Linked DNA regions of Homo sapiens: region 1 is linked to region 2. The links are contacts of gene promoters, found by promoter capture Hi-C in human tissues and cell types (Jung and others, 2019). All regions are on one chromosome and are shown on one strand. Each heading gives the region's core, a stretch centred on a gene start or on the middle of the fragment in contact. The rest is flanking DNA. Distances are from core to core; before and after follow the strand shown. Region 1 overlaps CCDC60 (coiled-coil domain containing 60). Region 2 holds the start of TMEM233 (transmembrane protein 233).

Region 1 (3,358 bases), core at 569-3,068, 77 kb after region 2:
TAGCAAAAGATTAGGGAGATTTTTTTCCCAGAGGAATTAATGAGGAAGGGAAACTTCAACACATTCTTGCTCTGTAACCATGGTTATTTTATCATTAAATTGAAAGCAGAGGCCATGTGATGGTCTCATGAGAGCCAGGGTCTAGAGTGGTTTTGTCTTTGAAGACCTTATGGAAGTCACTGCTTGTTGCTCTTTGACATATATGGGATGGGGTGATGGTAATGGTGAATGTACCTGTCTCAGCAGGAGAAGATTCCATGGGGCAACATGTGTGAGATAAAAGTAACAACCGTCCCCACCACCATCCCCACCACCAACCTCACTGCCATTTATTGAATACTTACTCTATGCCAGGCACATGCTAATATGTTAAATAAATGCATTATCTGATTAAGTGCTTAAAATGTTTCATTGAACTAGATGTTATTTCCATAACATTAGTAATATTTTACAGGGATAATATTATCTTATTCTCACTACAACCCTTTGGGATTGGCTGCTAATGAGCCTCATTTTACAGAATGAGAATCAGACTCAGAGAGGTGAAGCAACTTGCCCAACATAACCCGGCAATTAGTCATGGCCATGGAGCCTGACCTTAGTTTGTCTGGTTCCAAAGCCAAGCTTTGATGCGACACAATCTCATTTTACAGATGAGAAAACAGAGGTTTAGAGAAAGGCTAGATGACTTGTCCAAGGGCAATAGGTTTTGGATCCACATCAGTCTGACTCCAAAGCCAGTGCTTGTGCTGTGGGTTCTTACAAAGGAAGGAGCCTCATTGAGCTGATGCTTCATTATTATTGTCTGTCTCTAATGCTTATAAATCAGGCACAGCAGTGGGGGCCTTATGGGTCAGCATTGTCTCTGAGTGCCTCCAAGTGCCACCTTCCAGAGCAGCCCCAATGAGAGTTGAGGCAGCAGCCAGCGAATTCATCATTCACAAGCAGAGGCGAGGTGTGATGCATGTGAAAGTGCGCAGTGAACTGTAATTGTGGTAATAACAATAACCAATAAGTCATAGTTGGCATCCCAGTGGGCTGAAGGTGATGATGAACCTCTTCTAGTGCCTCATTTATTTTCAGGAAGGAATTTGCTTACTCAAAGGAATCCACACCTGGGAAGGGAGCTCTGGCTCTAGGCTGTGTGCTCTCTGGGGCTTTTAGAGGTCAGAAGTCTGTGGACGAGGCTTCCCACCAGAAAGCGGATGTCTTAGGTTCAAGTCTGATAGTACCTCCTTATGAGCTAATCATATCGGTTGCTGGCTTGAAACTTCAAAGGATTCCCGCTGCTCTTAGAATAAAAACCAGAATCCTTGAGTTTCATCCCTTTTTGGCTGCATTTCAGTTCCCTGAAGGTGTTGTGGTCCCTTTTGACCACGTTTGCACATGTGCTGCCTATAATACTCTCTTCCCCACCTCCCTACCCGCCCATGCCAGCCTCATCAGGCTGGCTCATTTACATGCTTTATCCAAATCTCAGCTTAAAGCTTCTTCCTTGGAGGAAACTTCTCTGATCCCCATCCCCAACCCAGACTAGGTCAAATGCCATTATTATTTGTTCTCACAGTTTCAAGCTTTCCTTTAATGGACACTTCTCACAATAATAATGAGTACACAGCCCATACATGTTCATAAATATTCACTCAAAGGAGGAATGAATAACCAGAAGATTCCTGAGAAGCAGTGTGGCAGAATGGCAAAGAGAATGGTTTTTGGAATTAGAAATGTCTGGATTTGCCAGGTATGGTGATTCACATCTGTAATCCCAGCATTTTGGGAGGCCGAGGTGGGAGGATCACTTAAGCCATGAGTTTGAGGCCAGCCTGGGCAGTATAGCGAGACCCTGTCTCTACAAAATAATAATAAAAAAAAAATTAGCCAGATGTGGTGGTGTGTGCCTGTAGTCCCAGCTACGTGGGAGGCTGAGTTGGGAGGATCACTTGAGTCCAGGAGTTGGAGGCTGCAGTGAGCTATGATTGTGCCACTGCACTTCAGCTTGGGCAACAGAGCGAGACCCTGTCTCAGAGACAAAAATAAATTGGTAAGAAAGGTCTAGATTAGAGTCATGGCCTTATCATTCACTAGCTGAGTGACCTTGAACTAGTCACATAGGCTCTCTGAGCCTCATTTCTTGATTTGTAAAATAAAGATAATAGTACCTACCTTGTAGGATTATTGTAAGAACTCAGAGAGGTGATACACATAAACAACACAGCTCAGTGCCTGTCACAGAGAAAATGCTCAACAGTTGGCAACTACTACTGTTAATGTGATTGCTATTATTCTAAGCTTTATTTGCCCCAGGAGTCAAGAGCACATACCTGGGTGCTTTTCTTTGCATCCCATTTTCTATTGTGACTGTCCTCCGGGCATCTTCCCGAACCATCTCCAGGAGCTTCTGCAGATCTGATGAGAATATGAGAGGTCACCCTTGACCAGAAGCCACCCCTGAGACAGGATTGTGCAGAACAGGGTGCAGCCCCCCAAACTGGGGTCACCTCTGCTCCTGAGGGTTGGAGATCTGGAGAGAGATTCCACTGGGGTCCAGAAGAGGTGGCTGATAGTGTTGGGCATGTTGCAAATCTGACCATGCCACGCCCCTGCTTAAAACCCATCAGTGGTTCTGTGTTACGTTTGGCTAATGCCTGTAATGCCAGTACTTTGAGAGGTCAAGGCAGGTGGATCACTTGAGGCCAGGAGTTTGAAACCAGCCTGGCCAACATGGTGAAACCCTACCTCTACAAAAAATACAAAAATCAGCTGGGCGTGGTGGTGGATGTCTGTAATTTCAGCTTCTCAGGGGGCTGAGGCATGAAAATTGCTTGAACCTGAGAGGCAGAGGTTGCAGCGAGCCGAGATCATGCCACTGCACTCCAGCCTGGGTGATACAGTTAGACTCTGAATCAAAATAATAACAATAATAATAAAATAAAAAATAAAACATAAATAAATTCTTTCAACACAGCCTGTGAGGCCTGCCAGGATCCAGCTTCTCTTTTTATCCCCCATTTCATCTCCCTTCCCTTCCCCACCTTAAACTCTACTGCAGCCAGAGAGAACTGTTTCCAAAGCTGAGAATAAATCATCTTGCTCAGGAAACCTTCTCTGATCTCCATAGGCCTGAAGTTTTAAACCAGCAATCCACAGGCTGAATTCAGCTTACAAATGTGTTTTATTTGATTCCATGTGGATGCCAATCTTTTAACACTGGAAGATTTCACATGAAAATCCAGACCTCCAGCTTCCCTAGAAAGGAGTCTGAGATGGGACTACACTGCCCCCATTCCTGCTGCATGCTGGACGTGCCTTTAGATAGGCGACTGCTCTCTAGCTCCCCACAGCTCCCACCACCCCTCCT
Region 2 (3,097 bases), core at 464-2,963:
TATCGGTGCAGACGCTGTCCACAAACCGGGTTTGGGAAAGGGCAAGTTACGGGTGCAAATGGAGCCTTGCAGGTGCCCACGAATCGAATATGGTGCCACCACCCGTGGGCAAGTGTGGGCGGACTTGATGGGGGACGGGTGGCTAGCGATTTTCACAGCGCTGAATCAGGGCTCTGCGTCTGTGGCCGGGGAGTTCCGTGGCCCAGCTGCAGGCGAGGTGAGCCGGTGGGGGAGGGAGCGCAACTGCAAGGGTTGTCCCGGGACAGTGCCGGTACGAACCTCACCCCGCCGCCACCCCCGGGCCAGCTGCTGCAGTCAATAAGGCGAGGGCCTAGCAGGCGCTCGTCGCCCTCCTGGTGGGGTTCGCTCGGGTGTTCCTACCAGGGTTGAAGAGGGCTAGGGAGCTGAGCTCCGGAAGGGCGGACTAGAGGCCCCAGCGGCCACTCCTAGAGAGGCGGGCAGCTCGGGAGGTCTGAGCGCAGAGGGCGGGCGGAGCCGCACGTTGCGTGGAATCCCCTAGTTCATTCCCGGGAGAGCCCCGGGCGCAGGACAGAGCGGTGGAGGGGCGCCTGGGAGCTCTGGGGGACACCAAGAGAAGAGAGGTTAGGGCCAGTGCGCAGCAAACGGGGAGGAACTACGACGCGCTGGGTAGAAAGAGTAAGAGAGGCGCACCCACTTTGCTGGTGAGGGGGGCACACGGGGAGCCTAAGAAAGGCCTAAAGAGGTAGTGGGTGTGAGCCAGCCTCGGGCGCGTTAAAAAGGGGGCGCCGGAGGGAGGCAAGGAGAGGAAGTTGGGTGTAGGAAGAAGCGAGAGGAAACTGTTGCCTGGACAGAGCGTGCCGTGCCAAAGCGCGGAAACGGGATCAAGGAGGGGGCATCAGGAATCGCCTGGGGACCCCCCGGAGAGTGGCGGAAGCGGTGCCCTTGGGCGCAGCAAAGAGAGAAGGGAGCACAGGCTGAGATAGAGACAGTCCTGGGCGCTGGAGAGCAGGAGCCCCCGGAGCGGCAGGGAAAGGAACGTAGAGCCTGCATGCTCGGGGTATGAGCTTACTGCGCTCGCTAGGGTGGCGCGCACTGGGGCTCTAGAAAAGAGGGTTGAGAAGCCCCGGGCAAGTGCCTAGGAAGGTCAGAGGAGTCAGCAAAGTCCACGGAAGAACTTCCCCGGGTTGGAGAGGAAACGCACCCTGGGAGCTGGAAAGAAGAGGAAAGCTAGCCTGGGGGAAGCTTGATCAGGGCTCTGAGTACCACGAGGAGTGCAGAGGAGGTGCTGATGATTGCGGGGAGAGCTCTGAGAGCCCGAGAAAGGTGAGGAGGAGGTGCGAGGACAAAGAACACCTAGCGCGGGCCGGGCCGTGAGGAAGGGAGCCGCAGAGAGCGCGCGGACTCCCCTGCAGGGGCTCAAAGCCGCCCGGGTCTCTCCTCCCAGGCTGCCTCTGGCCGTGATTCACTCACCATGATGGAAAAGACCAAAGCCACGATGTTGATGGGGTACGCAGGGCAAAAACACGAGACGATGGTGAGCCACAGGTAGTTCTTGGGCATGGGCACGTCCTCCTCGGTCTTGTCATCTTCAGTGTTGGCCTCGGGACTGCTGTCCAAAGCCCTCTTGAAGTCCGGGCTAGGGGCGTACTGAGACATGGGCGAGGCCGGCGGCGCCGGGAGGGCGGAGGAGCGCACGGTCTGTGTGGTCTGGGGCTCTGGCCGCCGGCTTGTGGCGAGGCTCTGAAAAGCCAGCGGCTCGGGGCTCAAGGGAGACGTGACCTCACCCCTTCTGCGTCCTCTGCCAGCACCCGCCCGGGCTCAGGGACCCTGGCCAAGAGCCTCCCCACAAGGAGGAAGGGAGGGAGAAAAGGAGTGAGGGGAGGCGGGGAGGACAGCGGGAGCGTCAGCCTGAGGAACAGGGAACAGGCAGATGAAGGCACCCCACTCCCTGAGATCGTCGGAGGGACGCACAGACTCACACTGAGAAGTCTGGAATAAAAGGAGGCTCAGGGAAGGAGGACGCAAAGGCCCATTAAGTTCCAAATTGGCCAGCCCGTGGGCTGAAGATGACCAGCTCATTTTTAAAAGCCACTTAATTCTAATACATTTAGATGGGACAGGACCAACCCTATCCAGTTGGCAACAGACTCACTACTTCCTCTTGACTTCAACGTTTTACCTTAACTGTCTGGTGCCTGGGCATTTGATTTGTCTCCTGTGCCTCAGACCTTGAACACTGAGCCCCAGGAATTTCTCCTCCCCCCGACCCCCTCCCCCAGGTGGGGTGGGAACCAGGTGCCCAGCTTTGGCCTCAAAGCTTTCCACATTCTACTTGGGGCTCAAGAGACTGGAGTCCAGTATAGTCAGTCAGTGGGCACTGCCCGGTCCATGCCCGTCCAGGTGCCCTCCCCAGTGTGGAAACAAGGAATTCTTCTTTCCACTTTTCCACCTGCAGGACCCCTGGGGAGAAATGCAGGTAGATCAGGCTGGCCTAGGCAACCTAGATGGATGAGTGGGCTGGGAAGAAGAACAAGGTATCCACTTTGGGGACTAGTGTGAGAAAAGCAATTGTATCAGTGTCTAAGCTATTCATGAGAGGGCCGTATGGACCAGAACTGAAGCTTGAATCCAGACAGAACTAGGAAATTGTCACTTCAGGAAAGCCCCTTCATCTTGCTAAGCCCCTATTTCTCCATCTGAAAAAGGGGAAATAATAGTCCCTGCCTCATAAAGTCGTAGTGACTCTTCTATGAGATGGTACATTATCCAGGTCAATCCATGTGCTCAATAAATATTAGCTATTATTAGCATACTATTTCTCCTTATATTCTGAAACATATAGTGCATTATACAGTATCCTAAACTTGATATCCCTTGCTAATATTTCACCAAAAATCCAGGTATTCTGAGCTGCAGGACCACAAAGAAATGAAAATAATTTGATCATGCAGTGTCAAAAGCAATTGCTCACATCATCATACTTGAAACTATTAATCATCTTCTTGGCTTTCTCAGAATATAAGCTGATTGCCTGGGAGATTCTCACTTATCTCATGAGCCATACTTATTTTGTTATCTGCCTCCCTCATTGGACTGCACACTCCCCGAGAGAAGG

Evidence for each region. The method cuts DNA at HindIII sites, captures the fragments that hold promoters and counts their contacts. A contact is called where the count stands out against the background at its distance.
Region 1: a fragment that was not itself captured here is called in contact with the fragment with the promoter of TMEM233 in region 2 in 4 of the 25 tissues and cell types used here (H1 embryonic stem cells, dorsolateral prefrontal cortex, spleen and 1 more).

What each region holds. Positions count from the first base shown.
Region 1 is chr12:119,515,671-119,519,028 of GRCh38, reverse strand. It overlaps CCDC60 (coiled-coil domain containing 60), which reads right to left. Exons shown (of 14, transcript NM_178499.5): 8 at 2,322-2,406. The region is part of intron 2 of PRKAB1-AS1 (PRKAB1, TMEM233 and CCDC60 antisense RNA 1); the gene reads left to right. Among named protein-coding and RNA genes, the nearest start is that of TMEM233, 76 kb to the left of the region's middle. The HindIII fragment of the contact is 3,029 bases long and covers 304-3,332 here.
Region 2 is chr12:119,592,390-119,595,486 of GRCh38, reverse strand. It overlaps TMEM233 (transmembrane protein 233), which reads right to left and starts at 1,713. Exons shown (of 3, transcript NM_001136534.3): 1 at 1,453-1,713. The coding sequence starts at 1,638. All of the region lies in intron 1 of PRKAB1-AS1 (PRKAB1, TMEM233 and CCDC60 antisense RNA 1), which reads left to right. RefSeq lists an enhancer at 1,152-1,725. The HindIII fragment of the contact is 2,865 bases long and covers 1-2,451 here.